Linked DNA regions of Homo sapiens: regions 2, 3, 4, 5, 6 and 7 are each linked to region 1. The links are contacts of gene promoters, found by promoter capture Hi-C in blood cells and fetal thymus (Javierre and others, 2016). All regions are on one chromosome and are shown on one strand. The core of a region is centred on a gene start or on the middle of the fragment in contact, and the rest is flanking DNA. Distances in the headings are between cores, read along the strand shown.

Region 1 (3,149 bases), core at 237-2,736:
AGGTCCTTAAAATGTCTCTCAAATTCTTTTTGGAGACGACAGATCACCATTTGATACCTATCAGGATCAAATATTTTTTCATCTTCCTTATTTTGCTGTTTTAGCTCATCAACAACTTCTCTGAGGGCAGGAAAGTCTGTTAGATTTTTTTCCTCAATATGTCTTTGAAATAAATTCAGCTTAACTTCGAAAGTACAAATATGGTCAAAGGCAGCAGCAGCAAAGACTTTACTAACTCGTAATTCTTCACTGAGTTCTCGAAGGTGTTCCATAATGTCCACCAAGAAGCCAAAGTCACAAAGCCATTGTTTGTCTGAGAAGTGGACTGTTGTTGCCCCTACTGAAACCAAGAACGCTTCCATTTCTTTTCTTAGAGAGAATATTAGTTTTAAAGTTTTCCCTCTCCTAAGCCAATTGTTCAGACATCGTCCATTAACCCTTTCACCATGCTCTGATTCAGATTCCGTTAGTAAAGTCTGAAATTCAGGTCGCCTAACGCCTCTGGTCTTAATCAAAACTATCCATTCGGATATGGTATTTATGATCTGATTAACATCTACATCATAGGAGCTCAACAGTTCCAAGTGAAGAAATCCTGAATAATGAATGACATTCCAACAGTTGGGGCTTACGGCCTTTTCTCTCATGTATGAGACGAGTCCTGAGTTCTCACCAATCATCCTCAAAGTATGGGTCGTGGTCAGTCCAACCATTCTCTGCAAGCTAAGCCCTGCTGTCTGCAGGGACTCTAGGATTGCCGACATGAGCGCACCAACACTGAAATGATGAGTCAGGTTGATTATGGTCAGAAGATCTTCTTGCACCTCCAACTCAGGGCCTACACCGCGGATAAAGACCAGGAGGTAGTTCTCATAGGCCACAAAAGCCTGGTCGTCCAAGGCAAGAGAATAGGCTTTAAAGTCCCTGGCTCGGTTAAAAAGCTGGTTGCGTAGATTCCTGTCAATGCTCAGGATCCTCTGCCTTGTGATATCTGGAGATAAGTCAACGCCTTGCAGGACGCTTACATGCTCGGGCAGTACCTCTCTCAGCAACACCTCCATGCACTGGTATACAAAGTCCCCCTCACCCCAGCCGCGACCCTTCAAGGCCAAGAGGCGGCAGAGCCCGAGGCCTGCACGAGCAGCTCTCTCTTCAGGAGTGAAGGAGGCCACGGGCAAGTCGCCCTGACGCAGACGCTCCACCAGGGCCGCGCGCTCGCCGTCCGCCACATACCGCTCGTAGTATTCGTGCTCAGCCTCGTAGTGGCGCCTGACGTCGCGTTCGCGGGTAGCTACGATGAGGCGGCGACAGACCAGGCACAGGGCCCCATCGCCCTCCGGAGGCTCCACCACCAAATAACGCTGGGTCCACTCGGGCCGGAAAACTAGAGCCTCGTCGACTTCCATCTTGCTTCTTTTGGGCGTCATCCACATTCTGCGGGAGGCCACAAGAGCAGGGCCAACGTTAGAAAGGCCGCAAGGGGAGAGGAGGAGCCTGAGAAGCGCCAAGCACCTCCTCCGCTCTGCGCCAGATCACCTCAGCAGAGGCACACAAGCCCGGTTCCGGCATCTCTGCTCCTATTGGCTGGATATTTCGTATTCCCCGAGCTCCTAAAAACGAACCAATAGGAAGAGCGGACAGCGATCTCTAACGCGCAAGCGCATATCCTTCTAGGTAGCGGGCAGTAGCCGCTTCAGGGAGGGACGAAGAGACCCAGCAACCCACAGAGTTGAGAAATTTGACTGGCATTCAAGCTGTCCAATCAATAGCTGCCGCTGAAGGGTGGGGCTGGATGGCGTAAGCTACAGCTGAAGGAAGAACGTGAGCACGAGGCACTGAGGTGATTGGCTGAAGGCACTTCCGTTGAGCATCTAGACGTTTCCTTGGCTCTTCTGGCGCCAAAATGTCGTTCGTGGCAGGGGTTATTCGGCGGCTGGACGAGACAGTGGTGAACCGCATCGCGGCGGGGGAAGTTATCCAGCGGCCAGCTAATGCTATCAAAGAGATGATTGAGAACTGGTACGGAGGGAGTCGAGCCGGGCTCACTTAAGGGCTACGACTTAACGGGCCGCGTCACTCAATGGCGCGGACACGCCTCTTTGCCCGGGCAGAGGCATGTACAGCGCATGCCCACAACGGCGGAGGCCGCCGGGTTCCCTGACGTGCCAGTCAGGCCTTCTCCTTTTCCGCAGACCGTGTGTTTCTTTACCGCTCTCCCCCGAGACCTTTTAAGGGTTGTTTGGAGTGTAAGTGGAGGAATATACGTAGTGTTGTCTTAATGGTACCGTTAACTAAGTAAGGAAGCCACTTAATTTAAAATTATGTATGCAGAACATGCGAAGTTAAAAGATGTATAAAAGCTTAAGATGGGGAGAAAAACCTTTTTTCAGAGGGTACTGTGTTACTGTTTTCTTGCTTTTCATTCATTCCAGAAATCATCTGTTCACATCCAAAGGCACAATTCATTTTGAGTTTCTTTCAAAACAAATCGTTTGTAGTTTTAGGACAGGCTGATGCACTTTGGGCTTGACTTCTGATTACCCTATTGTTAAATTAGTGACCCCTCTTAGTGTTTTCCTGTCCTTTATTTCGGAGGACGCACTTCGAAGATACCAGATTTTATGGGTCATCCTTGGATTTTGAAGCTTATAACTGTGACAAAAAATGTGAAGGGAAGAGATTTGAAACATGTGGAAGGAAAAGTGAGTGCAGACTATAAACTTCCAAAAAGACAAGCCCAAAATACACCTAAACGTTATGTCAGATTATTTTGTTAAAATCAGTTGTTAGTGACGTCCGTACGTTAATAGAAAAAAGAATGCTTCAGTTTGGAGTGGTAGGTTTCTAGAGGGATTTATTGTGAAAGTATAAACTATTCAGGGCAATGGGACTGAGAGAACAGTGGGTAGAAAGGACCACTGAAGGAAAGGAAGAGAATTGGAAGGTAGATGAAAGAAGGAGCAAGAACCTGGGGATGTTTTTTCCTTTTCACTTGTAATAGTAGTAACAGAAGCAATGGCAGACTGGCTTTTGTTTCTACTGTGTTAGAATGAATTGACAGGACAACTGGGCCTATTATTGTACTGTGCCAGAATACTGTAAAACAAAACTAAACATACTAGCTTGGTGGCTTGTAATTAATTACTTAA
Region 2 (3,327 bases), core at 352-2,851, 3.3 Mb before region 1:
TGGTAATGATATATTATTAAATTACCTTTTCCCCAAACGTTTTAAAAATAATAATCAAGAGATGGTATGTAATGAAGCATCGACGTGGGTAACTCTCAAACTTTATTGTCCTTGTAAAAAGTCTAACCTTTCCAAAACTCATCTGGGCTTTACCATTAAATCTGCGTCATAATTCTAGAGTTTGTCTTTCTTCTCTTTTTGAATAAAAGGTTTCAAAGTACAGCCTATTCGCTGGATCATGAGAATATGTTACTAAGAAGAATCACTTCATCCATGGGAAGCTGCAGTCAGCATTTTAAAGCAACACTGCCACCAGAAGACAAGAAAGAAAAGTAACTACTAACGACTACGGGGCAAGTTAAATACAAAATATTTACCTGGCCTCCCAACGCGGCTACATTACACCCTGCCTACCACCAACTCTTCAGAAAGGCTCATTCTTTCTCGCACCTCATCTTTGTAACTTTTTCCCCCCCAGCATTAGCCTATCTACTAAGACACATCAACCTAAAATCGTATCCTAATGTCCTATCTGTTGGTCTGGGTAGTGTTTACACAGGTGAACACAAATGTCGAAGTCTTTCACTGATTTTTTTTTCAAAATAAGTGATCAACATTGTGTCCTAGTAACTCCGCAACGTGTCACGGAATCGCTGAATTTGTCATTGTCCACAAGTGTAGAAAAATGTGGTCACAAGTCAGTCCTCGGCTCGCGTACGAAGAGGCGGTCTGCCCAGTGGGGACGCGGGACCCCCCTGTTTCCCCTATTTTTATTTATTTTTTACTTTTTTTGAGACAGAGTCTCACTCTGTCGCCCAGGCTGGAGTGCAGTGGCTCGATCTCGGCTCACTGCAACCTCTGCCTGCTAGATTCAAGCGATTCTCCTGCCTCAGCCTCCTGGGTAGCTGGGATTACAGGCGCCCGCCACCACGCCCGGCTAATTTTTGTATTTTTAGTAGAGACGGGGTTGCACCATGTTGGTCAGGCTGGTCTCGAACTCCTGACCTCGTGATCCGCCCGCCTGTGCTTCCCAAAGTGTGTTTCCCCTCTTAAGCAGTGGTTCGGACGGGAGCTTTCCCGGCCCGGCGCTCGCGTCCGGGATTAAAGGGCTGCCGCGGAGGGCGTGACCAGCCCAGCCTCGCCGCCGTCGCTTACCCGGTAGTTGCTCGAACCCACCCAGCCGGTGAGCGCGTCGACTGTCTTGCCTAGGCGGCCCAGGTCCTCCTCCAGGTCCGAGATGGCGCCGGGGGCGCCAAGGTAGAGCAGGAGCTCCTGGCCGACCTGCAGCCGGCCGCCGACGTCCTTCTGCTGCACCTGGGCGCAGAAGTACTCCATGCTGCGGGGCTCCATGGCTGCGGCCGCCCGCCCGCCTGCCAGTCTGTGAGCGGCCAACTTTCGCCGAGAGCCGCCCAGCCTCCAGTGCGGGTCCCCGCGGGAGCGGGCGGGACTCACTTAGCCCGCCAGGGGCGCGGCTTGCGGGGCGCAGCGGGCGGCGGGAGGAACGCCAAGCGCCCAGCCGCCCCCAAACTAGTCAAACTCGGCGCCCCCCGATCCCCAGCCCGCTTCAGAGGCCGCGGCCGCGGGCGACGTCAGCACGCGCGTGACGTCAGCACGACGCCGGCGAGGGCCCTCCAGTCCGGCTAGCGTTTTGCTGCGGAGGTGGTGGAGGTGGCTGCGGAAACCGCTGGGAGCGATAGGACCTCTAGGGAGACTTGGGGTCCGAGTTGGGCCGAGCCCCCTGGGAGGCGGGCCGTTCTTTGCTAGCCGCTGTCAGGGCACCCTGCCCTCGCCCTGTGAAATGTGGAACGTTTCCAAGTTTGCCTCCACTTGTATTCAACACTTAGGAAAGTACTTGGCATCCCCCTTTCCCGCCCCCACTGCCGGTTTAAAAAAAAAAAAAAAAAAGAATACACTCCTGACTTCTGCTTCCAGCCACCACCACAGTCACTGTGTAATACTTAAAAAAACAAAACAAAACAAAACTTAGGTTTGCCTAAAGTAAAACGCACAGATTTTCAGCGTACACTTCATGAGTTTCGGCAAATGTATTCACCCGTGGAACCGCCACCCCAGTGAGGGTACAGCACGTTTCCAACACCCCAGGAAGTCCCAGGACACTTCCCAATTATCTGCTCTTCCCTAGGCAATTCTAATTTGATTTCTAGCATGGTAACATAGTTTTCCCTGTTCCTGAACTTCATACAGTCTGTGCTTCTTTGGAGTCTGGTTTCTTTTAGCATAACGTTTGGGGTCCATCCAGCGCTGTTGGTGTCTCAGAAGTCCATTCCTTTTTATTGCTTTCCATTCTGTGGAATCACTACCATTTGTCGATCCATTCACTTGTTGGTAGATATTTGGGTTGTTTCCTATTTTTTATAATTATGAATAAAGCTGCTACAACGGTTAGTGCACAAGTTTTTGTGTGGATATATTTTCTTCTCTCATGGGTAAATAAATACCAAGGACTGGCATTACTAGGTCTTGTAAGTTGTATGTTTAACTTTAGAAGAACCTGCCAAATTGTTTACCAAAGTGACTGGATCATATTAAATCCCCACCAGCAATGCTTGAGAGTTCCAGTTGCTCCACAATATTTGATATGGTCAGGGTTATTAGTTTTAGCCATTCTGGTGGGGGTAAAGTTGTCTAATACATTCCAAAAGCACACTGTGTTTATCTTCTTGACAATTATTCCCAATCACAACAAAATGATTATTTATGTAATATCTTTCTCTTCTAATACACAGAAAGCTCCAGGAACCTTTGTGTTTTCCTAGGGTGGTGCCTAGCAAATAATGGGTGGCCAATTTAAGTTAAATGAGTGAATGAATTCAACAAAAATTGATATTTGAAATATTCACAATAACTAAGAATAAACAAACTCAAAATTCAAAGAAATTGACTGTTTTCTGTGTTCTTTTTTCAGTATTTCTGTGTTTCACATTGTATTGAGTTTGTAAAGTTTCTTCCATCTTTAATTGGTTGTAATTTCCCTCAGACTATGCCTCAATCAAGTAAACTATGTGTGATGGTTAATTTTATGTGTCAACTTGACTGGGGCAAGAGATGCCCAAATAGCTGGCAAAACATTATTTCTGAGTGTGTCTGTGAGAGAGTTTATGGAAGAGATTATCATTTGAATTGGTGAGCTGAGTAAAGCAGATGGCCCTTCCCAATGTCAGTGGACATCATCCAATTCGTTGAGGCCTGAACAGAACACAAGTGTGGAGAAAGGCCAAATTCACTCTCTCTGCTCGATCGGAAACATCCATCTTTTCCTGCTCTCAAAGATGGGTGCTCCTGGTTCTCAAACTTTAGTATTCAGAC
Region 3 (3,635 bases), core at 354-2,853, 3.3 Mb before region 1:
TACTCACGGCTTTCTAATTAACACATGAAAGAATACCCATTAAAAAATTTAAAGATAAACAATATGCTAGAAACAGTTCTAATATGATCAATGAATATGCTATGAATTATAAAATTGCATGAAACCTGATTTTTCTTATTTTCCTATTATGATTTAATCCAGGAACCATTTTTGAGGCAATTTTACTTGACCACCACCCATCTCCTATTGTGACAAATGATTCAGTACCCAGTATCTTCAACCATTTTTTAAATGCTGGAGTATTTAAGACTTACTACCTAGAGGAATGTGTAAAAACATTACATAATTCAACATTTCTGTAACAGCTATTGCACTTGAAAATTAGTAGCCAAATTCTGAAAAACCTGTTCTCTGCTTAAAAAAAACAAAAAAACCCCAAAAAACTTCCATAAATCTTTTTCAAAATGGCATCTGAAAAATAAATACCCTCAAGAAGAGACTAATTCACATACATTCTTAGAGGAAATAGCAGTATACAATATTTTATACATTTCAAAAGGGCATCGTATTCTTCTGAATGTTGCAACAGACTCCAGATCTGCAATCGTGCTGCAGTCATGAATAAACATATTCCTCTGAAGTTCCAAGTATGTGTGGCCATATCAAGGGCATGGAGCATGCATAACAGATTTGAAATGGATTTACATTACCTCCAACCTTAGGGCCACCTGCTGAACCAGGCTTCCTTGCACTGTTGGCAGGATTTCCGGATGTTTTAGGTGCAGGAACCTTGAAGGCTGATGCAGCTGATGATGGCCTATTTCCATCCACTGATTCTTCATCATCGAAGCTTTTATCTGCACAAAGCATCAGAAAAATGTATTTAAGAGAACTAAGCTTTGTTCCATTTTCCCTAAAGCTCAAAAATAAAATAAAGCCATATATAAAATCATTACTTTGGTAAGATATATAATACGAAATAAAGGTCCTTTGAATAAGCATTTATATATTGGCTAACACCATATAAAATAATCCTCTGTAATTCAAAATCAAAATGCAGTATTTTCATACTTCTTACTTATACATATTAAGTCAAAACATAAAACATTTTAACTCTAAAGGTAGTAAAAGTATTTTTCATGTTTTTGCTACTCTGCATTTTCTGCCAGCTCCTCCCATAGTGTATCTTCTAGCACGCCCTGCCTTATTCCTTATACCCAGATTCTGCAACTTACAATCACAGATCCGTTTGCAAATCAGTCGCCTCATTCCTCTGAAAGCTCTTAATTTCCCTCACCCTAGGAGGCTCCCAATAGTTCACATGGCCAAATACAGTAAATTCGATACTAATCAAAGATTCTATCAAAAAAAGACAGAAACAACCACAGAACCACCACTGAGGTTTGTGCCGGCATTTTTCTTTCTCTTCCCTGCCCTAGGTGCTGTAACAGCCAATCAGCTACAAGGTGACATCATCTTATGGCAGCTACTGCCAGATGAAAGGTAAAAATTCTCCATGCATCTAAAAAATTCTCTATTAGCTATAATCCTTATTCTATATCAAAATTTCAAAGGCATTCAAAACTAAAGGCTTAGAAATCTGTTTTTCTTATTTGACATGAAAATTTATATAAATAGAAAATAAGGTTTTATGCAATATTCATTCTGCTGGGATGCTTATTGCATCAGTAAAGCATAGACTGCCACAGTGCTCATTACTGTGCATAATTAACTCTGTAATCTTAAAATCTGCTCTTTATTTAAGCCATAGAAACCAAACAAAACAATTTGTTTTCATAAATGATTCTACAAGGCTCCTTTCGGAATATGAATGACCACACTAGTATCATCTACTTATATGCAAATGAAACATCTCCCAGCATACACACACACACACACACACACACACACACACACACACACACACACAATGTATTTTACTCTCCTGAGAAGAGATGGTTTTCTCTAGGACCCTGCACAAATCAACCATGACAAACAACATGGGCGAGGCAGAGAAGCAGCTTTACCACACGCTTCAGATGAATATGCCAGAATCTTTTCCTTTCAATGAACTTTCTTTACTTAAACAAACACCCAATCACCTAGAATTAAATAATTCCTATAAAGAGATATTATTAAATATTTTAAAGAAAAATAACTATTTTTAATATATAACTATTTAACTATTAAATATATCTTAAAATATGCCAAGAAAGTTTTAAGACTTATTTATTAAAAGAAAAAAGAATCAAATAGACACTCTAAAGTCACATTCTATTTCAGAAAGTGTTTTTAAGTAATACAACTTGCAGGAAAAAATTATCTTCTACTCTTAAAAAATTATTTTTTTAGCATAACACTATTAGGGAGTCAGTTTGGATAAATTAATAAGCTTAAAACCTATGCAGTACATAGACGGCTTTGTTAAAAACACTAATACAATTCCAAATAAACTTCTTTGCTACTGTTATGTTAAAAAAAATGCAGCTAAGAAAGAGTAGACATACAAATCTACAGAAAGTTAAGCACTAAAACACAGAGCAGCCAGAAGTTCCCATGGAAACAGTATTCTGTTCCTACACACACACAAGAATTGAAAAGAGTAAATATGTCCCTACCATTAAAAAAAAAATTAACTCTTTTCTCAAACTACTGGGAAATTAATTTTTAAAGTTTTTATCAAAATACAGCAAAGTATACAAATCATAAGTACACAGCTAATTAATTTTCACAAAATGATCATGCCAGTATAACCAGTATCCAGATCCACAGATTACCAGCATCGTGTAAGTACCCTCGAGACTCCTAAAAGTCTACATTTACTACCAAAGCTAACTAGTCTCGAATTCTAACACTTGGTTTTGTTCATTTTTGAACATTATATAAAATGAATCATACAATATGTATTCTGGTATCTAGCTTCTTTTTACTCAATGTTGGAAGGATAATGTTTGGAAGATTCATTTTCATTGCTGATAGTTTTCTACTGTGTGAAAGTACCACAATTTATTAATATCCATTCTACTACCGACAAGACATGGGCTGTTCCAGTATGAGGTTATTATAAAATGGTACTACTAAAAGGTAAGCAAACAAAGTCAAAGGTTTCTAAAGATTTGAGCCTTACTGAGGAAGTAGTAAACACAATAATTTATTTTAGATTATTTTAGATTATAACTATATATAATTAGATTTTAGATTAATAATTTATTTTAGATTATAAGTCAAAGATGCATAGTAATATCTATGGCACCAGTCCTCAAAATGTGGCCCCTATACCAGCAGCTGAGCATCACCGGGCAATTTGTTAAAAATGCAAATTCCTGGGCCCCAACCCAAACCTACTGAATCAGAAACTCTAGAGTAATCTATGTATTAACATACAAGCCCTCCCAGTCATTCTGATGCATGATTGAGTTTAAGAATCACTCCCCTAGGGGAGGGGATGGCATTCTTTTTCTATAAAGGACCACACAGCAAATATTTTAGGCTTTGTAAACCATACACATACGGCCTTTCCATGCAACTACTCAATTATGACATTATAGCTCCAAAGCAGTTATATACACACAATATGTAAACAAACGAGTGCAGTTGTGCTTCAATAAAATTTTATATACAAAAACAGGAGGGCAGATGGTTTTGATCCGCAAGCAACAGTTTGCCAATCTCTG
Region 4 (3,625 bases), core at 262-2,761, 3.4 Mb before region 1:
ACTGTAATCCTCATTCCTGCATAAATACTAATATCATTTTCTTTCAGAGAAACTCTCTTGTTATTCAGGTTTACAGGTGTGATGTTAAGAATTGTAGAAACCAGAGACAGAGGCAGACACTAACTGAAAGACCTGATAGGGCTATATACTCCGTTCCAAACACCAGGCTACATTCTACTAATGTGTATCTCATTTAATCCTTATGTTCTACGGGGTTGACATTATTAGCTCTACTAACCTATGCAGGGACTAAGGTTCAGAGCAGTTAAATAATTGCCTAAGGTAGAACAGTCAATGGCAGTTGTAGGACTCAAGCCCAGACCTGACTCTGTACTCCTTGTTCTCTGAAAACCAAGGCAACCAGCAGCCCAAATAAACCAAAGCTTAATATGATAAAACTAAGAAAAGTGGGTGGTCATAATAATCACTTCATCCCTTTTCCCTTACATGAGATATGATTAAAAAAACAAAACAAAACACTTTTTTATGGTTTTCTGGAAGGCAAGAAATGAATGACCAATTCTTGCAGCAGACAAATAATTAAACAATGCAGTATCAGAGCTATACTAACAACAACAACAACAAAAAATTAAACTTACCTCCTCACGGGAACTGATTTTGATGTGCAATTGCTTGTTATTAAAGGTATAAGTCTGGGTACATGAGTATGCTGAAAAAGATGTTTTAGAAAAGGTTGAAAATACTACACACTTCATGTGGTCCTTTCTTCTATTTGCCTTACATTCAAGTATTTAGTTATGTTACAAGAGGACAAAAAGACCAGATATTAGATTTGAAAGAAATTAAGACCAGTCTTGAAAAGTTTTCCTGAATTAATGTAATGTAATGATGATACAGTTTCAAAAGGACAGGTATGGATATAATATGATCTAACAAAGAAAAGTTAACTGTTTAACTGCAAAGAACTGTTAAGACAATATAGTTTTGGGGGAGAGGGAGCACTAAGAGGGACTGGGCATGTACTGGCCACATTTTCTGAAGTACCATGGCTACTGCTGGTAAAAAATCATAATTGCCATGTCATCAAAGCAGGTAGTCGAGTGAATCTATTTCCTTAACTATTGGGAATGCACTTTGAAATGGTGGTCTTAATAGAACTTTCACTTCATTCTGGCTGAATCGTATCTCTCTAGAATTCAAGTAGAAGTTCCATAAAGACATAATCTTCTGATTTCTATTAGTAATTCTTATGCCCTTCTTTAGTGAAGCAAACAGTAAAAAGTTCATAATAGACATTAACATAAGCATACATATTTAATTCCTTAAATCTCCTGTATTCCTTCTGAGCTAATGGTACAGGCTGGGTTATCTAGGAAGCAGGCTATGAGATGGAGTTTAGCATGCAGGATATGTATTAGGAAGTGCCCTTGAAAGACAAATATCACATGTTCTCACTCATGTGGGAGATAAACAAAAGTGGATCTCATGAAGATAGAGAATAGGTTAGTCATGATCAGAGGCTAGGAAGGATAGGGGGAGGAGGGAGTGAAAAGGGGTTGATTAATAGGTATAGAGTTAGAACAATAAGATCTAGTGTTCGATAGTTCAGTAGGTTGACTATGGTTAACAACAATCTATTGTACATTTCAAAATAGCTAAAAGAGAATAATTAGAATGTTCCTAGCATGAAGATAAATATTTAAGGTGATTAATTCCCTATTACCCTAATTTGACACTGACACATGTGAATGCATTAAAATATCACATGTACCCCCAAAATATGTACATTACATATTAATTTTTTGTAAATGCCCTTGGGGTTACCATCTGTGGATGTGAGATGAAGGAAGCAGGAGTGGAGCAGGCAGAGGAAGAAATTGAACTGTGATACAGCCCAAGGCTATCTTTGCCCAAAACCATTACGAAGCTCTAAACTGAAATAGTCCCTGAGAATACTCTTGAATTGGTCCAAGATGGCCAAACCTTTATACTTCCACATCAATCAGTTATTGGATATGGGCAATACTGGGAAGGGGCAACACCTTGGGAAAGGCAGCTCTCTAGCTGAAATAATCCTTTAAGACACTGGCAACAGAAGGCTGTCTACTAACAGTTCTCCTAGCATTGGGGAAACAAGTCTTTCATTGAAGGAAAGTGCATATGGCACATCAGTGTTTGCCACAGCTAACTCAACCAAAATAAATGAAAACCCTTTTTTCAGCCACTAAAGAGAAACGATCTATAGACTTGAAGCTGTTGAAGATGAGAATAATGCAAGAAAGTGTGCTGACATGCCTGTTAGTCAACTGTTTAATTCAGCATGAAAGGACTCTGTGGACCTGCTCCCTACAGCATTCACAAGAGCCCACTTCTCAAACATTACTACGGAGGTAAAACCCATGGAGATCCCCTAGCTACAACAACTATAAAGGAGGTCTTACCTACCACACTTCTCCATTTTTCTTCTAACTTCTGCAAAATCCTAATGCTGGGTTAATCACATCCATGACAGTGGCAAGGATGGAGAGATAAACTAACCTAACCATTGCTACATCATACTCAGGGGGAGCTGTACCAAAGGAAAGTAAAAATTTACATCAATTACAGATGAAGCATTCAATCAAACACTAAGTCAGAACAATTTACACTTTATTAATATAAGTTGACAACAGGGGAAAAAAAGCTTCCTAAAATTAAAAAGAGAATTAGAAATTAAGTACAGCAATCTAAGGAAGTAGACTCTTAGGAAATAAACAAAGCAAAGAAAAACAGGGGTAATATTTAAAAATTATTGCATTATTGGTGAGATGATAGGCTAGTATAATAACGTGAAAAATGAGCAATTTGAAAACAAAGTATAAAGAGTAAAGCCTGAGAATCACAAAATGGGTACTTTCAAATAAGTAGAATTTAAAGGAATTTTTCCTTACATACAGCTGTTAAGACAGAGACAAGAAGTTATTCAAAAAATGATAAATGACATCAAGGATTTCAGAATTTGTGTAACAAAAGTAACAGCAGGAAAAGATCTGAGCCAATAAGACAGAAGTACTAAATAAAGAAAAGATCCATGAAAATTAACATAAATTTAAGATAACCAATTTCTGTCAAAAATCCTTGTCCACTGTATAAGAATAGTATTAGTGAAAGACAATTGACTCCTAGACCTGCTGTGGGGAAAATCTTCACACAAAGGGACTGTCTTACAAAACTTCCTAAAGGTTGCTTGGTAGTGGTGGTGGTTGTTTTGCTATAAAATAATCAAATAGTCTCATTTTTAGAGGCAACAATAAAAAGTTAAGAAAACGGGCTGGGCATGGTGGCTCACGCCTGTAATCCCAACACTTTGGAAGGCCAAGGCAGGCGGATCGCCTCACTTTCCCAAAGTGCTGGGATTACAGGAGTGAGCCAGGAGGTCAGGAGTTCGAGAGCAGCCTGACCAACATAGTGAAACTTCGCCTCTACTAAAAATACAAAAATTAGCCAGGCGTGGTGGCAGGTGCCTGAAAGCCCAGCTACTTGGGAGGCTGAGGCAGAAGAATAGCTTGAACCTGGGAGGTAGAGGTTGCAGTGGGTGGAGATGGTGCCACTGGAGTGACAGAGCGAGACTCCATAACAACAACAACAAAATTTGTGAAAGAAAAGGAAAGTGAACCTGAAGTTC
Region 5 (3,373 bases), core at 16-2,515, 3.2 Mb before region 1:
AATGCAGTCAACCATCTCTTCTAGATGAGGCAAAATTCCGTAAGCCAGATCAAAAGCTTTAAAAAATGTCCATGTTAGGCCAGGTACAGTGGCTCAGGCCTGTAATCCGAGCACGTTGGGACTGAGGTGGGAGGATCACTTGAGCCCAGGAGTTGGAGACCAGCCTGTGCAACATAGTGAGACCCTGTCTCTACAAAAAATAAAACAATTAGCTAGGCATGGTGGATGTGCCTGTAAGTCCTAGCTGCTTGGGAGGCTGAGGCAGGAGGATCATTTGAGCCCAGGAGTTTGAGGCTACAGTGAGCTATGATTGCACCATTGCACTCTACCCTGGGTGACAGAGTGAGACTCTTGTTTCAAAAAAAAAAACAAATCAGTACTTAGAATAATCAGTACTTTGTTGGAATAATCCAACAAAATAATAATGAATGACAAATGCACATAAAGAGTTAACTACCATCTTGGCCATGTTGTTTACAACATCAAGAAAGTGGAAACAGGTCAGGTGGGGTGACACATCTGTAACCCCAGTGCTTTAGGAGACTGAAGCAGAAGGATTGTTTGAGGCCAGGAGTTAAAGACCAGCCTGGGCAACATAGCGAGACCCCATCTCTACAAAGAGTTTAAAAATTAGCTGGGGATGGTGGTGTCTGCCTGTAGTACTGGCTACTCAGGAGGCTGAAGCAGGAGGATCATCTGAGCTCAGGAGTTTGATGCTACAGTGAGCTATGATTGCACCACTGCATTCCACCCTGGGTGATGGAGTGAGACCCTGTCTCTCTTAAAAAAGAAAAGAAAAGAAAAAAAGAGTAGAAACAACCTAAATACTCAAAAATAGACAATTGGCTTAAGTCACTCCCATGGCAATGGGATGTTTCAGCAGTTTTAAAGCAAATAAGAAGGCCACTAGCCTGAGGTTGTCTCTGCACCCTGAGCCCTTACATAAGCAAGCTGAAGCCTTATTTATTTATTTATTTGTTTATTTATGTATTTATGTATTTTTATGAGATGGAGTCTCACTCTGTCACCCAGGCTGGAGTGCAGTGGCATGATCTCAGCTCATTGCAACCTCTGGCTCCCGGGTTTAAGCGATTCTTCTGCCTCAGCCTCCCGAGTAGCTGGGATTACAGGCACGTGCCACCACACCGGGCTAATTTTTTATATTTTTGGTAGACAGGGTTTCACCATGTTGGCCTAGCTGGTCTCAAACTTCTGACCTCAAGTGATCTGCCCGCCTCGGCCTCCCAAAGTGCTGGGATTACAGGTGTGAGCCACCGTGCCCAGCCCAAAGCCTAATTTAGAGGTATTTCTTATAACTGACTTAAATAGACAAACAAAAATACAGCCCTAACCAATCACAAACAGCCACTGAGTGAATTGGCTATATAACTAGGTGTCTCCCATCAGATTATACCCAAATAAGGCAAACACTTAGCTGTAGCAATTCAGGTAATTTCTTCACTTTGCTTCTGTGTTCAGCCTATAATAGGTAGGTGCTTCCAGAGCAGAGCCCATAACCTCTTTTGGTCTTGGTGCTTCCCAATTCATGAATCATTCTTTTACTCAAATAAATGTGTTAATTTCATTTAAACTTTTTTTTTTAACAGCAAGATATCATATTAAATTTATCATATAAAAAGTGGCCGTTATTGGTAAGAGGTTGACTTGGGGAAGTGAAATGAGATTTGGTGAGAAAAAAAACTCTCTGCACTCTGTCCATCATTTATTAATAGAATGTTTTCTTTCTAGAGATGAACTATTTCTACTTCTAAACATTGAGGAGATACAAAGAAGGGCTTTTGGCTAGATATGGTGGCTCATACCTGTAATCCCAGCACTTTGGCAGGCTAAGGCAGGAGAATCACTTGAGTCCAGGAGCTCAAGACCAGCCTGGGCAAAAAGCAAGACCCCATTACTATTAAAAAAAAAAAAAAAAAAAAAAAAAAAGAGGCTTTCAGCAATGATAGTGATAAAATTACAAAAAAAAAAAAAAAAAAAAAAAGCAACAGTAACTAACATTGAGTACTTACTGTGTTCTGGGCAGCCTGTCAGGTATTTAATGTATTTTATTTAACTCCCATGATAGCCCTTTGGGGTAGGTAGTATTCTTTATCATCTTTAGGTGTGAAGACTGAGGCTTAGAGACGTTGAGTGAACGGCCTAGAGTGAGTGACACAGCTGATAAATATTGTAGTTAGAATTTAAACTCTGGAAGTCAGGATTCCAGACATTCTTATCCACTGGGCTGAACTGCCTCGAATAAGTAAAGCATCTCCGTTAGTGGAGATCCCCTAATAGCCCTCTGTTCTGGGAGACATACCGAGGGATCATTTTAATTAGGTAGATGTAAGGAAACACAGGGGAAGGTTGTAGCTGGACATGTGGGAATTGACAATGAAGCTCTTTTCATCATTTTCTTTGGTACATGAAGTTCAAAGGCTGCTGGGAGAAAGTCAGCAAATTTTCCCAAAGACTAAGCTTCTGGGAAGGCAGTTACTGAGACCCCTGATCACTTCCTTTAGGAGGGTTAATATTGCTATATCACCTCTGGACTGGAATGGCCCTGACCTGACGTGGCAGCAGCAAAAGACAGGAGAAATTCGCCATGGAGAGGGGAGCCTGGACTGCTTACCTGGACTTAACAATCCTGGCAGCAACAACAAGTTTCTAGCTCAGTTCCTACAAATTTTACTCTAGCATCACACATGTGTCCTAGGAAAAAAGCCCTTTGTGTTTGTAACTTTGGAACCATAGATTGTCAGAGCATTTACATTTTTTTTTTCTTGGTGACAGAGTCTCGCTCTGTCAGCCAGGCTGGAGGGCAGTGATGTGATCTCGGCTCATTGCAACCTCCGCCACCCGGGGTCAAGCGATTCTCCTGCCTCAACCTTCCGAGTAGCGCGTGATCTACCTGCCTTGGCCTCCCAAAGTGCTGGGATTACAGGCACGAGCCACCGCGCCCAGCCCAGAGCATTTAAATTTTAATAGCTCCATCCTGCGAAAGGTCGTGCTGTAGTAGATATTCTGTGTCTCAACAGTGACACCTTGTGGGGCAGAGGTAGCAGAGGCTGGGGGCTGTTTGGACTGGAGTAGTTTTCTATCTTTCTTAAAGTCAGTTATAAGCAGGATTGATCTTTTGGACTCTGTTCCTGAACTTAACATGGAAGGACAAAAACACGTAGAAAACATGATGTACTGTGTACACCTAATCAATTTGAATGTTGAGTTTTGATTTCACTCACAATTCATTCATTAAAGATTAAAAGTACAATGATACACTACTTTTCATCTAACAGGTTAATAAATATTAAAAAGTAGGACAGAATTTAGTGTCAGTGAGGGTATAAGAAAACTATCAAAAACTGTTACTGGA
Region 6 (3,383 bases), core at 179-2,678, 3.3 Mb before region 1:
CAATATCAAGAATAAAGCATGGAACAAAATACATAGATAATCTGAAAGCTGGAATTATCAGACCATTTAAATAACTGTGATTAATGTAGTAAATGTTCTAGTTAAAAGAGCCAACAACATGCAGGAATAAAAGGAATTCCAGCAGAGAGACCAAAACTTTAAGGCAGAGTCAAAATACAAATAATTTTTTAAATGCATTAAAAGCAAGGTAAAAGTGATTAAGATGCCTTTGATGGGTTCATCAAAAGATTTGATACAGAGAAGGAAAGAATCAGGGAATCTGAAAATACGTTCATACAAATTACTCAAATTGAAATACAAAAAGGAACAAAAAGGGAAGGGGAGAGACAAAGCATTCAAGAGCAGTGGGATAATACTAAATTGCCCAACATAATGTCATAGGAATTCTAGAAGAGAGAACAAGGTAGAAGAAATATTTGGAGGGAAAATGGCCAAGAATATAGGAAAAATAATGAAAGGCATCAAACCATACATCTAAGTCTCAGAAAACCCCCAAACAGAAAATTCCAAAAAACACCAAGACACATCCTATTCAAACTGTTAAAACCAAAGGAAAGAAAAATCTTAAAGTCAATGAGAAAAAAACAAAAGGACATTAAATACACAAGTACAGAAGATTTCCGGCCAAAAAGTATGAGAGTAAGGAGACAATGGAATGACATTGTTACAGTATAGTAGTCCCCCCTTATCTGTTTAAGTAATACATCCCAAGACCCCAGTGGATACCTGAAACCACAGACAGTACTGAGACCTATATATAAATTTTCCTACAAATATATACCTATGATAAAGTTTAATTTATAAATTTGGCACAGTAAAAGATTAACAATAATAAAGTATAATAACCATAACAATATACTATAACAAAAGTTACGTGTGTCTTGTCTCTCTTAAAATTTATATTGTACTTACCTGCTTTGGGACTACAACTGACCACAGGTAAGTGAAACCGTAGAAAGCAAAACCACAGATTATTGTACTACCAAAAAAAAAAAAAAAAAGAATGCTGTCGCTTCATAATTCTATACCTAGTTAAAATAAAAGATATTTTAAAAGACATTTTAAAACTAAAGGAGAAATAAAAAGTTTTTCAAACAAACAAAATCTAATAGAATTCATTACAAGAGACCTGTATCACAAGAAATGTTAAGGGAAAATCTTCAGGGAAAAAAATACATGACAGCAGACAAAAACTTAGATCTACACTAAGAAATAACAGGAAATAGTTGAAATTAAAATAAATATTTAAAACCTTAAAAATAAGCTGGGAACAGTGGCTCATGCCTGTAACCCCAGCACTTTGGAAGGCAGGAAGATCACCTGAGGTCAGGAGTTCGAGACCAGCCTGGCCAGCATGGCAAAACCCCATCTCTACTAAAAATACAAAAATTAGCTGGGTGTGGTGGCACATACCTGTAATCCCAGCTACTCAGGAGGCTGAGGCACGAGAATCATCTGAACTTGGAAGGCAGAGGTTGCAGTGAGCTGAGATTGTGTCACTGCACTCCAGCTGGCAACAAAGCAAGACACTGTCTCAAACAAACAAACAAAAAAACCTTAAAAATATATGTATTTAATTACTCTAAAAACTAACTGACACTCTAAAACAAATACTAGGTCTATTGAGTTTAGTAAAGTCATGAGATAAAAGGTCACTATAAAAAAATCAATTGTGGGCCAGGTGCGGTGGCTCATGCCTGTAATCCCAGCACTTTGGGAGGGTGAGGCAGGCAGATCACCTGAGGTCAGGAGTTCGAGACCAGCCCAACCAACATGGTAAAACTCTGTCTCTACTAAAAAATACAAAAAAAATTAGCCAGGTGTGGTGGTGGGTGCCTGTAATCCCAGCTACTCGGGAGGCCGAGGCAGGAGAATCATTTGAACCTGGGAGGCAGAGGTTACAGTGAGCTGAGATCGCGCCATTGCACTCTAGCCTGGGTGACAAGAGTGAAACTCCGTCTCAAAAAAATAAAACAAAACAAACTGTGTTCCTACAGACCAGCACTCAACAATTGGGAATTTTCAAAATACTGTATCATTTACAAAACTAACAACAATCACAAAATACTTAGATATAATTCTAACAATTAAGTCCAAGATCTACATGCTGAAATCACAAAATGCTAATGAAAGTGATAGAAAAAGAGCTAAATAAATGGTATATACACACATACACATACATATATACACCAAGTTCATGAATTGGACAACTTAATATTATAAAGATTTGAAACCCCACAAATTGTTCTTGTGTGAATGCAATCCCAATCAAAATTCCAGTAGAATTTGATGCAGAAATCGACAAGCTGATCCTGAAATGTATATAGAAAGGTAAATGAATTAGAATACTCATATCAATATTGAGTAAGAAAAATGAAGTTACAGTGCAATTATCTGATTTGAAGACTTAATATAAACCTACAGTAATCAAGACAATGTGGGGGCTGTAAGAGGCACATGCCTGTAATCCCAGCACTTCTGGAGGCTGAGACAAGAGGATCGCTGGAGACCTGCCTGGGCAACATAGCGAGAACCTGTCTCTACAAAAAATTTTAAAAGTAGCTGGCCATGGTGGCACAGGCATATAATACCAGTTACTCAAGAGGCTGAAGCAGGAGGATTGCTTGAGCCCAAAAGTTTGAAGCTGTAGTGACCTATGAATGCACCACTGCACTCCAGCCTGGGTAACAGAGTAATACCCTGTCTCAAAAGAACAAACAAATATATAGATCAATGAAACAGAAGAGGCAGTCCAAAAATAGACATACACATATATAGTCAACTGATCTCCAACAACTGTGCAAAGGCAATTCAATGAAGGAAAGAAATATACTTTTTCAATAAATGGTGATGTTACAATTGGATATCCATGTGCAAAATAAAAAATGAACCTCAACCTATACATCACATCATTTACAAAAATCAACTCAAAAATGTATGAGATATAAACATAAAACCTAAAACTATAAAACTACTAGAAGAAAACACAGGAGAAAATCTTTACACCTGGAGTACACAAATAATTCTTAGAGACAACATGAAAAGAAACATAAAAGAAAAAAACATAAAAGATTCTTGGAGACAACATAAAATTTTAAAAATTGATAAAGCAGACTTCACTAAGAACTTCTGCTGTTTAAAAGACATGGCTAAGAAAATGAAAAACCCAGTCACAGATTAAGAGAAAATATTTGCAAAATACTTATCTGATAGCCAACTGGGTTCACTGTAGAGTTTAAGAAGCCTATTCTAAAATTCATATGAAAATTCAAGGGGCCCAGAATTGTCAAAACAAGCTTGAAAAAGAAAAAGTTGGAAGACTCAAATTTCCCAATTTCAAAACATCCTACAAAGCTTCTGTA
Region 7 (3,567 bases), core at 820-3,319, 3.4 Mb before region 1:
TTTCTTGCCATGAACAATATCAAAATTATGCCCTGATGTTTAAAATAATCTTTCACCTATTAAGTTTATTTCCCATTCTAGCACCATTTCTAATGGAGAATAGAAATACATTATAGACAATAATAACACAAAATGCTTTATTTTTCTTCCTTACTTGTTACCATTTTTGCTATTTCTTCCCTCATGAATAACTTCAAATATGCTCTCAAAATGCTTTGTAATTTTAAAAACAAGATGTAAAATATCTAAGAATAAATAAAAGTCTAATTTCTCAAAATGACTTCAAGTGTATAACCTATCTTATTGCATTCATATACATATTACCCAATATTACAAAAAGGACATGTTATAAGTTAGTTTTAATTTTCTCTCCTCAGTCATGATAAACTGTAGTCAGGATAGCTACATTTTGTTTCCTCTGGAGCCAACCCTTTGTCAAACTGCTGTTCACCATTATTCTTTCATTCATTTAACAAATATTCACATAACACAGAGGTACTATGCTAGGCAATGGAGAAACTATGGTTAGCCAAAATAGATAGACGTGGTCTTTGCCTTATGGAGAGTACAATACACTCAGGGAGATTTTAAAAATCAATCAAATGACATCAAATATGAAACTACAAGTAGCAAGTCCCACAAAAGAAAATGAAAGTTTATACATAAGAGGAGGTTGACCTATGAGGAAAGTCAAGCTTGAGCTGAGAGCTAAAGAATGTGTAGGATATCATTAGGCAAAGTGGACAGATTTGCTTTCCCTGGAGAGTTAATAGCATGTGCAAAGGCTCTGTGACAAAGTAAATGAAAGAAAGCCAGAGTAAGGAATAAAAAGTATAAAGGGACTAGGAGAAGAGCCAATGACCCAGGTGTGAGGATGGAACAGCTATAACCATATTGTTGACCATGGAAGGAGACAATGCAGAGGAATTAGAAATGAGAAATAGACTCCTGGTGATACCAACTGAGTACCTTCATCAAACCGCCTTACATCTTTCACTTTCAACAGCTATTAAATTCACCTTTTGCTTAACAGAGAGTAAGAGCAAGAGCAAGAGAGAAAGAAAGAATGCGTGTAAATGCAAAGGAGAACAAGGCATGAGACAAGGCTGAAGAGGTAGATGGTGACCAGGTAACACTGTTATGTGGTTAAAGAAACTTCTGAGCTAGCTCTTTCCTGCCTCTCACCTTCTCTTCACAATACCCCTCTGCCGTTTTCCAGAACCTTCTTCCACCCCTAATCTTATGATGCATTCCCCTGGAACACAATGCAAGGTTCCCCTTCCCCCAATAAGGAAGAAGAGAGTCAACTCAAAAACGTACTTCAGTGAGGGGGTACATAATTCTTCAAACATTCTTTTAGCAGGCATACAAGCAAAAGAAGCTTGAAAACCCACTAAGTTAGGTGTCTGTTGCAGTAGAGTGATTCCTAGGTTTCTAACTTTTGTAATTGATTAAGTAATGGTTTACACACACAGAATACTGGAAGACCATTATTCCAATTTCAAACAGGATAAGTTTGAGGTGTCTTTGAGACATCTGAAAGGGGGTGTCAGGTAAACAATCACAGTGGATAAATCATTTCGGAACTCAGGAGAGGTCTGGCTTGGAGGTTAAAATCTCGGCATTATCTAGATAAACGTGGGAACTGAAGCCAGGGGTTTGAAGGAGGTGACTCAGTAAGAAAATAGAGAATGAGAAGACAGGGCCCAGAACTAACCCTTAAGAAATTCCAATATTCAACAGGCAAGTAGAGAAGGATGTGCCTATAAAGAGACAGAGATGAAGTGGACAAAGATGTAGGGGGAATAAAATGGAAGAACATCATATCACAAGCACCTAAAATTAAACAACAAAACAGTGACTATAGTCAACAGTGCTAAATACTGGTAGAAGAACAAGAAAAAAAAAAATCCCAAACTGGTTGATTTTGGTGCCTCAACGATGATCAGTGATTTACTCAAGACCTGTTTCAATGTAAGAATAAGCTAGAAAGAAGTGGGATGAAGTGAGTAACAAGTTAAGTTACAGAAATACCAAGTACAGACAACTCTTTTGGAAAAGTTGACTGTGAGGGCCAAAATAAAAAATAGTATCTGGAAGATATGGAGTCCAGTGAGACTTTTGTTTTTTAAACTGAAGAACCCAGCCACGTTAAGAGATAAACAGAAAGAGCTTGAACCTACATGAGATTACTGATTGTGTAAATGTGTTAAGGAAGCAGAAAATACTAGGCTTTGAAGCACTGGTGGAGGTGCTGGCCCTTGAAGAAGGACCATGTTTCTGGAGCAACAGGACAGAAGGAATGCACAGCAGAGAAGAATGTAACAGAAAGATCATGTTTCCATTTGATGGTGACTACTTATTTACTAAAGTAAGGGGCTAGGTCATATACTGAGAGAAGAGAGGAGGACAGAGACAGGCTGGCTGATGGATAGAAAGGAAAGAAACATGTCTGATAGCTATATTAAGCAGAGAAATAACTGATCACAGAAACATAGTAAGCATATCAGATTGTTGAGGGTTCATTTTATGTGAATTCCAGTAAAAATCATGAGCCCTAACATGTGACTTTCTCTAGCAGCACGGTTTCAGGACACAGAGAAAATAAAAAGTTGGGAATATCCACAGTTGTAGTTTTGCAAAATGAGTATTAAAAAAAAATCATTGCTTAATACTTTGCTATGAAAAAAAAAAAACGAGAGAACCAAGGGATTTTAGTATAATATGTACAGTCCTACTGCAAGAAACCATGGTTATCAAAGCTTAGATAAGAAGGAAATCAAGCATAGATGAGAAGGAAAGTATAAAGTGACAGATGATTAATTCAGAGTGAGTAGAAAAAACAATGGACTGACGATCCTTGAAATCGTGCAGAAGTAGTTGTTAGAGTACTTAAAAAAGCAAGGAGATCCTAGTCAGTAATGAGATACTTCAATTAATGACTTTGGAAACGTAACGGTAACACACAGATGATATCAAAATCCAATGTGTGACTATGAACTGGGTAGCTACAGTGAAAGTGAGGAGGAGGTCTAGAAACTGAATTCATCAAGAATGTGTGAAAATTTAGGAAAATAATAATAGCTAACATATACTTCTTACACTTCATCTGTACTGTCATAGCCTCACAATAACCCTCGGCATATGTACGAATAATTCCTATTTTAAGATGAGGAAACTGAAGTACAGAGGGTTAAGTAATGTACCTAAGGTTACACAGCTAGTGTGGCAGAGCTGGGATTCAAACCTAGGCAGCACTGGAATGTTGTCAAGATCAGTACATGCCAATAATAAGAAGGCTGGTCAGGGAGCATGAACCTCATATAAATGGGTATAGGAATAATGGTCACAAAGTAATAATGAGGAGTGCAAGCACAATAAACTTATTATCAATTACTATGAGTATGAGAGCCGAGAATAATAAACAGCTTTATCTTTAAAGAGCGTAAAAAAAAAATCAGATTCTAATCAAGGCAAGAACATTGAACGGACTCTTTAAAAATGGGGTTAAAGACTTAGGGGAGTTGCTGCTTATGAAAAAGATGTTTCCAAGGGAACAATGGAAGG

The links. Contacts are between HindIII fragments. The CHiCAGO score rates a contact against its expected background, and 5 or more counts as called.
Region 2: a contact is called between the fragment with the promoter of CLASP2 here and the fragment with the promoter of EPM2AIP1 in region 1, in 1 of 17 cell types (M2 macrophages). The highest score is 7.4, in M2 macrophages.
Region 3: a fragment that was not itself captured here is called in contact with the fragment with the promoter of EPM2AIP1 in region 1 in 4 of 17 cell types (M2 macrophages, M1 macrophages, M0 macrophages and 1 more); the score reaches 17.8 in M2 macrophages.
Region 4: a contact is called between a fragment that was not itself captured here and the fragment with the promoter of EPM2AIP1 in region 1, in 1 of 17 cell types (M2 macrophages). The highest score is 10.3, in M2 macrophages.
Region 5: a fragment that was not itself captured here is called in contact with the fragment with the promoter of EPM2AIP1 in region 1 in 1 of 17 cell types (M2 macrophages); the score reaches 8.1 in M2 macrophages.
Region 6: a contact is called between a fragment that was not itself captured here and the fragment with the promoter of EPM2AIP1 in region 1, in 3 of 17 cell types (M2 macrophages, M0 macrophages and naive B cells). The highest score is 6.3, in M2 macrophages.
Region 7: a fragment that was not itself captured here is called in contact with the fragment with the promoter of EPM2AIP1 in region 1 in 1 of 17 cell types (M2 macrophages); the score reaches 10.3 in M2 macrophages.

Annotation. Positions count from the first base shown.
Region 1 is chr3:36,991,645-36,994,793 of GRCh38, forward strand. It overlaps EPM2AIP1 (EPM2A interacting protein 1), which reads right to left and starts at 1,487. Exons shown (of 1, transcript NM_014805.4): 1 at 1-1,487. The coding sequence starts at 1,433. It overlaps MLH1 (mutL homolog 1), which reads left to right and starts at 1,874. Exons shown (of 19, transcript NM_000249.4): 1 at 1,874-2,019. The coding sequence starts at 1,904. RefSeq lists enhancers at 658-737, 768-1,087, 1,208-1,557, 1,928-2,147, 2,064-2,575. The HindIII fragment of the contact is 4,668 bases long and covers 1-2,358 here.
Region 2 is chr3:33,716,653-33,719,979 of GRCh38, forward strand. CLASP2 (cytoplasmic linker associated protein 2) reads right to left here and starts at 1,602. Exons shown (of 39, transcript NM_001365631.1): 1 at 1,156-1,602. The coding sequence starts at 1,350. RefSeq lists a silencer at 1,334-1,673 and an enhancer at 1,874-1,963. The HindIII fragment of the contact is 12,344 bases long and covers 1-3,327 here.
Region 3 is chr3:33,644,086-33,647,720 of GRCh38, forward strand. It overlaps CLASP2 (cytoplasmic linker associated protein 2), which reads right to left. Exons shown (of 39, transcript NM_001365631.1): 8 at 672-818. Among named protein-coding and RNA genes, the nearest start is that of CLASP2, 72 kb to the right of the region's middle. The HindIII fragment of the contact is 1,495 bases long and covers 857-2,351 here.
Region 4 is chr3:33,611,402-33,615,026 of GRCh38, forward strand. CLASP2 (cytoplasmic linker associated protein 2) reads right to left here. Exons shown (of 39, transcript NM_001365631.1): 13 at 600-670. Among named protein-coding and RNA genes, the nearest start is that of CLASP2, 110 kb to the right of the region's middle. The HindIII fragment of the contact is 2,261 bases long and covers 382-2,642 here.
Region 5 is chr3:33,784,556-33,787,928 of GRCh38, forward strand. No RefSeq gene overlaps it. Among named protein-coding and RNA genes, the nearest start is that of PDCD6IP-DT, 12 kb to the right of the region's middle. RefSeq lists a silencer at 2,906-2,965. The HindIII fragment of the contact is 2,422 bases long and covers 55-2,476 here.
Region 6 is chr3:33,698,868-33,702,250 of GRCh38, forward strand. All of the region lies in intron 1 of CLASP2 (cytoplasmic linker associated protein 2), which reads right to left. Among named protein-coding and RNA genes, the nearest start is that of CLASP2, 18 kb to the right of the region's middle. RefSeq lists a silencer at 556-756. The HindIII fragment of the contact is 3,773 bases long and covers 1-3,315 here.
Region 7 is chr3:33,627,112-33,630,678 of GRCh38, forward strand. All of the region lies in intron 9 of CLASP2 (cytoplasmic linker associated protein 2), which reads right to left. Among named protein-coding and RNA genes, the nearest start is that of CLASP2, 89 kb to the right of the region's middle. The HindIII fragment of the contact is 1,381 bases long and covers 1,380-2,760 here.